Linked DNA regions of Homo sapiens: all the other regions are linked to region 3. Evidence: promoter capture Hi-C in 16 types of primary human blood cells and fetal thymus (Javierre and others, 2016). All regions are on one chromosome and are shown on one strand. The core of a region is centred on a gene start or on the middle of the fragment in contact, and the rest is flanking DNA. Distances in the headings are between cores, read along the strand shown.

What was found. Contacts are between HindIII fragments. The CHiCAGO score rates a contact against its expected background, and 5 or more counts as called.
Region 1: a fragment that was not itself captured here is called in contact with the fragment with the promoter of DEDD2 in region 3 in 1 of 17 cell types (fetal thymus); the score reaches 7.0 in fetal thymus.
Region 2: a contact is called between a fragment that was not itself captured here and the fragment with the promoter of DEDD2 in region 3, in 2 of 17 cell types (total B cells and fetal thymus). The highest score is 5.4, in total B cells.

The regions. Positions count from the first base shown.
Region 1 is chr19:42,414,651-42,417,350 of GRCh38, reverse strand. The region is part of intron 1 of LIPE (lipase E, hormone sensitive type); the gene reads left to right. The region is part of intron 1 of LIPE-AS1 (LIPE antisense RNA 1); the gene reads right to left. Among named protein-coding and RNA genes, the nearest start is that of LIPE, 11 kb to the left of the region's middle. The HindIII fragment of the contact is 1,173 bases long and covers 807-1,979 here.
Region 2 is chr19:42,436,634-42,439,333 of GRCh38, reverse strand. All of the region lies in intron 1 of CXCL17 (C-X-C motif chemokine ligand 17), which reads left to right. All of the region lies in intron 1 of LIPE-AS1 (LIPE antisense RNA 1), which reads right to left. Among named protein-coding and RNA genes, the nearest start is that of CXCL17, 5.0 kb to the left of the region's middle. RefSeq lists a silencer at 638-817. The HindIII fragment of the contact is 1,373 bases long and covers 580-1,952 here.
Region 3 is chr19:42,216,388-42,219,087 of GRCh38, reverse strand. DEDD2 (death effector domain containing 2) reads left to right here and starts at 1,411. Exons shown (of 5, transcript NM_133328.4): 1 at 1,411-1,456; 2 at 2,043-2,408. The coding sequence starts at 2,081. RefSeq lists enhancers at 1-175, 176-1,052 and silencers at 1,824-1,923, 1,934-1,993, 2,075-2,280. The HindIII fragment of the contact is 12,709 bases long and covers 1-2,700 here.

The sequences.
Region 1 (2,700 bases), core at 144-2,643, 200 kb before region 3:
AAGTTCAAGGCTGCAGTGAGGTATGATCGTGCCACTACACTCCAGCCCAGGTGACACAGCAAGAATCCATCTCTAAAACTAAAAATTTTAAAAATAAGAATAACAAATAATAAGACTTAAAAGTTGAAATTGGCCGGGCGCAGTGGCTCACGCCTGTAATCCCAGCATTTTGGGAGGCCGAGGCAGGCGAATCACGAGGTCAGGAGATCGAGACCATCCTAGCTAACATGGTGAAACCCCGTCTCTACTAAAAATACAAAAAATTAGCCAGGTGTGGTGGCGGGCGCCTGTCGTCCCAGCTACTCAGGAGGCTGAGGCAGGAGAATGGCGTGAACCCGGGAGGCGGAGCTTGCAGTGAGCTGAGATTGCGCCACTGCACTCCAACCTGGGCGACAGAGCGAGACTCCGTCTCAAAAAAATATAATAATAATAACAAATAACAAGACTTAAAAGTCGAAATTACTCCTTGGCTGGTGGGCTGCAGAACAGATCATGTGTTAGCGGGCATGAAAACACATTAATCTACTCCACCAGGGCCCTTTGGTAACCACATGCATTGTCATTGAGAAATATTTTGTTGTTTTCTGTGCAGTCCGTCTCAACAGTGGGCTTGAAATATTCAGTAAACCATGCTGTAAACAGACGTGCTGTCATCCAGGCTTTGTTCCATTTAAGAGCATAGGCAGAGTACATTTGGCGTAATCCTGAGGGCCCTAGAATTTCTGGAATGATAAATGAACACCGGCTTCAACTGAGTCACCAGCTGCATTAGCCCCTAACAAGGGGGTCAGCCTGGCCTTGAAGCTTTGGCGCCCAGGCACTGACCTCCCCTCCAGCTAGGAAAGTCCTGGATGGCATCTTCTTCCAATACCTGGTGGTTTTATCTACACTGAAAATATGTTGCTTAATGTAGCCGTCTTCATCAATGATCTTAGCTAGATCTTCTGCATAACTTGCTGCGGCTCCTCCAGCAGCACTTGCTACATCACCTTGCACTTTTTTTTTTGAGACAAAGTTTCACTCTTGTTGCTCAGGCTGGAGTGCAATGGCACGATCTCGGCTCACTGCAACCACCGCCTCCCAGGTTCAAGTGATTCTCCTGCCTCAGCCTCCCAAGTAGCTGGGATTACAGGCATGCGCCACCACGCCCGGCTTCTTTTTTGTATTTTAAGTTGAGATGGGGTTTCTCCATGTTGGTCAGGCTGGTTTCAAACTCCCGACCTCAGGTGATCCACCTGCCTCAGCCTCCCAAAGTGCTGGGATTACAATCGTGAGCCACGATGCCCGGCCGTCACCCTGCACTTTTATGTTACAGAGATGCCTTCTTTCCTTAAATCTCATGAATCCACCTCTGCTAGCTTCCAACCTTTTTTCTGCAGCTTCCTCACCTCTCTCACCCTTCAAAGAATTGAAGAGGGATAGGGCTTCGCTTGGGATTAGGCTTTGGCTTAAGGAAATGTGGCTGGTTTGACCTTCTATCCAGACCGTTCAGACTTTCTCCATATCCACAATAAGCCTAGTTCACTTTTTTTTTTTTTTTCCAGACGGAGTCTCACTCTGTCACCCAGGCTGGAGTGCAGTGGCGCGATCTCGGCTCACTACAAGCTCCGCTTCCCAGGTTCACGCCATTCTCCTGCCTCAGCCTCCCTAGTAGCTGGGACTACAGGCACCCACCACCACGCCCGGCTGATTTTTTGTATTTTTAGTAGAGCTGGGGTTTCACCGTGTTAGCCAGGATGGTCCCGATCTCCTGACTTCGTGATCCGCCCGCCTCGGCCTCCCAAAGTGCTGGGATTACAGGCATGAGCCACCATGCCCAGCTAAGACTGGTTCACTTTCTTATCATTCATGTGTTCACTGGAGTAGCACTTTTAATTACTTTCATGAATTTTTCCTTTGCATTCACAACTTAGCTAACTGGCAGAAGAGGCCTAGTTTTTAGCCCGTTTCAGCACTGGACATGCCTTCCTCACTAAGCTTAATCACTTCTGGCTTTTGATTTAAAATGAGAGACATAAGACTCTTCTTTCACTTGAACACTTTGAGGTCATTGTAGGGTTGTTAATTGGCCTGATTTCTATTTTATTTTATTCTATTTTTCATCTCATTTCATTTATTTGAGACAGACTCTCGCTCTATTTTCCAGGCTGGAGTACAATGGTGTGATCTTGGCTCACTACAACCTCCACCTCCCGGGTTCAAGCGATTCTCCTGCCTCAGCCTCCCGAGTAGCTGGGATTACAGGCACACACCACCATGCCCAGCTAATTTTTGTATTTTTAGTAGAGATGGGGTTTCAGCATGTTGGCCAGGCTGGTCTCAACCTCCTGACCTCAAGTGATCCACCTGCCTCAGCCTCCCAAAGTGCTGGGATTACAGGCATTAGCCACCGTGCCCGGCCTCAATATTGTATGTCTTAGGGAATATGGAGGCTCGAGAAGAGAGATGGGGGAAATGGCTGGTCAGTGGAGCAGTCAGAACACACACAGCATTAATCGGTAAAGTTCGCCCTCTTACGTGGACATGGTTGGTGGTGCCCCCACTCACAATAGTAACACCAGAGATCATTGATCACAGATCATCATAACAAATATAATAATAATGAAAAAGTGTGAAACACTGTGAAAATTACCAGAATGTGACACAGAGACACAAAGTGAGCAACTGCTGTCAGAAAAATGGTGCCAACAGACTGGTTTG
Region 2 (2,700 bases), core at 17-2,516, 220 kb before region 3:
TTCTACATTTATTTAATCGGAATTCTGCCATAAGAAAGAGTTATTCCTTTTTCTTTTTCTTTTTTTTTTTTTTTTTTTTTGAGATAGAGTCTTGCTCTGTTGCCTAGGCTGGAGTGCAGTGGTGTGATCTTGGCTCACTGCCGCCTCCACCTTCTGGGCTCAAGCGATCCTCCCACCTCAGCCTCCTGAGTAGCTGGGACTACAGGCAGACACCACCACACCCAGCTAATTTTTGTATTTTTAGTAGAGACGGGGTTTTGTCATGTTAGCCAGGCTGGTCTCTAATTCCTGGCCTCAAGTGATCCCCCCACTTTGGCCTCCCAAAGTGCTGGGATTACAGGCGTGAGCCACCATGCCTAGCCTCTTCCTTATTTATTTATTTGTTCAGTTATTTATTTATATCAGCATGGACTCATGAGTATTTATGGGTTGGAATCCACTACTATCATTATTTATTATGTTGCTCATATTGTCCCAAAATTGGCCATTGGGAGCTCCTTCTAGTTGGCTTCTGTGACCTTTAGACACATCTCCACCATTTTTTGAGCAGCTCCTTACTTTCTGACACCACAAGAAGCTTTGGGCTCCTCTTGTGTTTTTCTGCCCCAGCCCTGGATCAGCTATTTTTCCTGGAAGCCCTAGTTCCTTTCATGGGAGAATGATATTTACAGACTATGGGCACTGACTGATAGGTCCATTGCTAGTAGGTGCTGGTGCTTCTAGGCCCTCTAGTGGTCAGAGCTGGGAAATAACACACACGCACACTCATGTACAGTAGTCCCCACTTAATCGCAGTTTCAGTTACCCGCCAACAGTGGTCCAAAAATATTGTTATCTTGAGAAAGAGACAAAGAGAGAGAGAGACCACATTCACGTCATTTTCATTACAGTATATATGTGTGTGTGTGTGTGTGTGTGTGTGTATTTTATATATATATATATATATATATATTTTTTTTTTTTTTTTTTTTTTTTTTTTGAGACAGAGTCTCTTGTCGCCCAGGCTGGAGTGCAGTGGTGCAATCTCGGCTCACTGCAAGCTCTGCCTCCTGGGTTCACACCATTCTCCTGCCTCAGCCTCCCGAGTAGCTGGGACTAAAGGCGTGCGCCACCACACCTGGCTAATTTTTTGTATTTTTAGTAGAGATGGGGTTTCACCGTGTTAGCCAGGATGGTCTCAATCTCCTGACCTCGTGATCCGCCTGCCTCGGCCTCCCAAAGTGCTGGGATTACAGGTGTGAGCCCCCACCTGGCCTATTACAGTATATTTTTAAAATTGTTCTATCTTATTGTTAATCTCTTACTGTGCCTAATTCATAAATTAGACTTTATCGTAAGTGTATATGTGTAGAAAAAATATATATATAGGGTTTGGTACTATCTGAGACTTGAAGTATCTTGGGGGTCTTGGAATGCATCCCCTGTGGATAAGGGAGGAATATTATTAACCACATCTTACAAATTAGGAAAATGAGGCACAGAAAAGTTACACAACTTTGTCCAAAATCACAAAGCAAATATGTAGTGGATCTGGGAAGTGAAAATAATGACAGATGCACCACAAATCCTAACAAGTGGAAGTAACTTCTTTACACATCCACATCAGCAGAAAGCCACAAGCCCAATATTCCAGCATAGACACTCACTTTGGAAAATAACCAGAATTCCACAGCAATAAACACAATGATAACCATCATGTACTCAACACCCGCCTGGACACTGGGCTCCCACAGCAGCTCACTTATTCCCAACAACTCTGCAAGGAGGATTTTACCACCCTCCTTTCACAAATCAGGGAATCAAGGATCATAGAAGCCAAGTGACTTGTCCAAGTCGACAGTTAAGTGACAGAGCCAGTAGCTGACCCCAGGCCTATGTGGATATAAAGTGCATGCTTATGCCACTGTATCAGTGGTTCCCAAAACTGATTTTAGGTGGAAAGTAAATAAGCTTCTTTTTACTTTAATATTTATGTGTTTATTCCAATGCATGTTAGGAAAAAACTAAGCATACATCAAACCTGTAATTTCACAGATAATATTGCATAGGATGAGGATGTTTTGCAAAATAAATTTGTTTAGAGAAAAAGTATAAAGTGGCCAGGCATAGCATCTCATGCCTATAATCCCAACGCTTTGGGAGGCCGAGGGGAGCGGATCACTTGAGGTTAAGAGTTCAAGACCAGCCTGACCAACATGGTAAAACCTGCCTCTACTAAAAATACAAAAATTAGCCAGGCATGGTGGTGGGTGCCTGTAATCCCAGCTACTTGGGAGGCTGAGGAAGGAGAATTGCTTGAACCCGAGAGGCAGAGGTTGCAGTGAGCCGAGATCACAACACTGCACTCCAGCCTGGGCGACAGAGTGAGACTCCGTCTCAAAAAAAATAAATAAATAATTAAATGAAAAAAAATTTAAACATTAGTATAGCTCTTCTGAAAGCAATTCTTAACTTTTGACCCAGTAATTCCACTTTGGGAACTCTCTCTCAAGAAAATAATCTAAAATTTGGAAAACAGTTACAAGAACAAAGAAATTTACCAACATCTAAAAAATAAAACTTTCTAAATATTCAGCAATGGGAAAGCAGTTAAATAATTTGGAACACATAATTATTGAGAGTATTATGCATTCATTAAAAATGTGTTATGAAGATGACACAGCAACATGCCTATGAATGGAAAAAGAGAATGTGTTTACA
Region 3 (2,700 bases), core at 162-2,661:
GGTGATCCGCCCGCCTCGGCCTCCCAAAGTGCTGGGAATGCAGGCGTGAGCCACCGCACCTGGCGTTTGTTTGTTTCTTGAGACAAAGTCTCGCCCTGTGGCCCAGGCTGGAGTGCAGTGGCACTATCTCTGCTTACTGCTCCCTGGTTCAAGAGATTCTCTTGTCTCAGCCTCCCAAGTAGTTGGGATTTCAGGCGCGTGCCACCACATCCGGCTAAGAACAGACAGGGTTTCATCATGTTGGCCAGGCTGGTCTCGAACTCCTGGCCTCGTGTGATCCGCCCACCTCGGCTTCTCAAAGTGCTGGGATTACAGACGTGAGCTACCGCGCGCAGCCGATTCTTTTGAATTCACTGCTACAGCTCAGGCAGAGCCAGTACTGGGCCAGTGCTAGGCAGGACCCAGATCTCCCGACTCCCAAGAGGAGTTAATTGCGGGGGTGGGAAGAGGTCCAGGGAGGGGACTTGTCTCAAGTACATGCAGGTCCTGACCTTGAGTCACCTAAGTGGGGGGCGTGGCGACCGTCACACCCAAGGCCCCGCGGTAAGGGGACACGCATACACCACAGCCTAGACTCCCTGACAGACCCTCTCTAGTTGTTGCAAGTTAGGGAGCGGGTATCTGGGCGACCCTGGAGGGCAGAGATTGGAAGGGGTTACGGAGGGGCCGTTTTGGCTCTGGGTGGAGACATCTGACTGTGATGGGGGTCGTGATGGACGCCATCGAGATGTACACAGTCGGAATGGAGGGTTCTGTTGCCGCTTGGAAGGAGGTATCCGTCCTGAACGTGAGATGAGGGAATTCTGGTTTTGATCAGGGGAAGGAACTTATAGACTGCGGGGGTGGTGGTGGGGGGGCGGGATTTCCATTTGGGATCACGAGAGAGCACAGTTGAGATGTAGATCCCTGGTTGTCACTAGAAGTGAGGGACAATCTAATGGAGGAGTGCCCAGGACCAGATCATATAAGGCCTGGGAGTTTACTGGGAGACGGGAAAGTAGTGATTGTGTTACTTTGCCACGGGCAACTAGGGGCAGTGGTGATGTGGGCGTCTAGCTCGTGATCAGGAGGGGGCTGTAGTTTATGAGATGAGTAGTTACAACTACTCGTGACGTGGCGCTACATGGCCCCGGTGGCTTGAGTCACGGGCAGGAAGTAGGGACCTGGAACCGGGTACCAGATACAGCCCAAGAGGCGGCGTGCTCTCGCTCTGCGCAAGCGCAGCACTCGCGAACCAAGATGCTTCGGTTGGGGGCAGGTCAAGCGGCCCAGGAAGGGCGGGGCTTGGAGGCCTCGTTCTGCGCATGCGCCGAAGGGGCGTGGCGGTCGCACCTGCGCGAGTTGGGGGAAGGAGGAGGGGCGAGGTGACGCAGGCGTAATAATAGAGAAGGTGCCAGAAAGATCCAAAACAAGTGGCTGCGGCCGTCGCCCAGGAGTCATCGGACGCCAGAATCTGGTGAGGATCCAGAGAGGCCTAATGGTGACTGGTGGCGGGTAGACAGGACCACCTGGGCTCTGGGGAGCGGGCGGGGCCGCCCTTGCAGGGCGAGGGGGTCGGGTTCGGACGGTACCACCTGTGTGGAGCAAAGGGGCTGCCTGGGTCGCTCCTCTGTGTAGGGGGCAGAGGGTCACTTTCGGGAGGTACCACTTGCGTAGAGCCGGGGGACTCATCAGACGGTACCGCTGGACGGAGAAAAGGGGCTCGTCTGGGCAGTCCTACCCAGAGTCAGGGGCAGTCAGCAGGGAGCCCCGGGGTGGGCCCCGAGGCTTGTTTGGGCCGCATCGTTTGGTCAGGTCCGGAGGCGAGCTCCGAACGTAGCACGGTGGTGGGGGCAGAAGCCGAGCGGGCTCCGGCGTCCCGACCTGTTCTTAGGGGACCTCGGGCGGGACCATTCCCTCCCGGGGGAGGGGGAGGCCGAGGCGGTTGGGGGTGCGGGAGCGGCCCTGCCCGGCGCGATTGGGCGGGGGAGACGCGCTGGCGGTGTGGGGTTCGGGCCTCCGCGTCGCTGACCACTGCCCCCTCCCCGCTGTGTGGGTTCTAGGCCGGGTTCTGAGCTTGTTCCGCCTCCCTCCCCCGGGAATGGCGCTATCCGGGTCGACCCCGGCCCCGTGCTGGGAGGAGGATGAGTGCCTGGACTACTACGGGATGCTGTCGCTTCACCGTATGTTCGAGGTGGTGGGCGGGCAACTGACCGAGTGCGAGCTGGAGCTCCTGGCCTTTCTGCTGGATGAGGCTCCTGGCGCCGCCGGAGGCTTAGCCCGGGCCCGCAGCGGCCTAGAGCTCCTGCTGGAGCTGGAGCGCCGCGGGCAGTGCGACGAGAGCAACCTGCGGCTGCTGGGGCAACTCCTGCGCGTGCTGGCCCGCCACGACCTGCTGCCGCACCTGGCGCGCAAGCGGCGCCGGCCAGGTACGGTTGAATGGGAGGGTGTCACACTTCCTGGGAGGAAAGGGCCTGGCTCCCGCTGGGCCTCCCTGGTGCCCTGATACGGACAGTGCCATATCAGGCAGCTTATGTCCCATTCTGCTACTCTCTCTTCCCACAATATCAATGAGCAACATAAGAGGAAGAAAGCATGGCTTTGGGAATTTGGCCACATCAGTGATGATGATTTTGGCCACTGTTTACGGAGGGCTTGTTTCATGCCAGGCACAGCTGTCAGCCCTTCATATGAACTAGTGCCTTATAGTCTCCCAGTAAT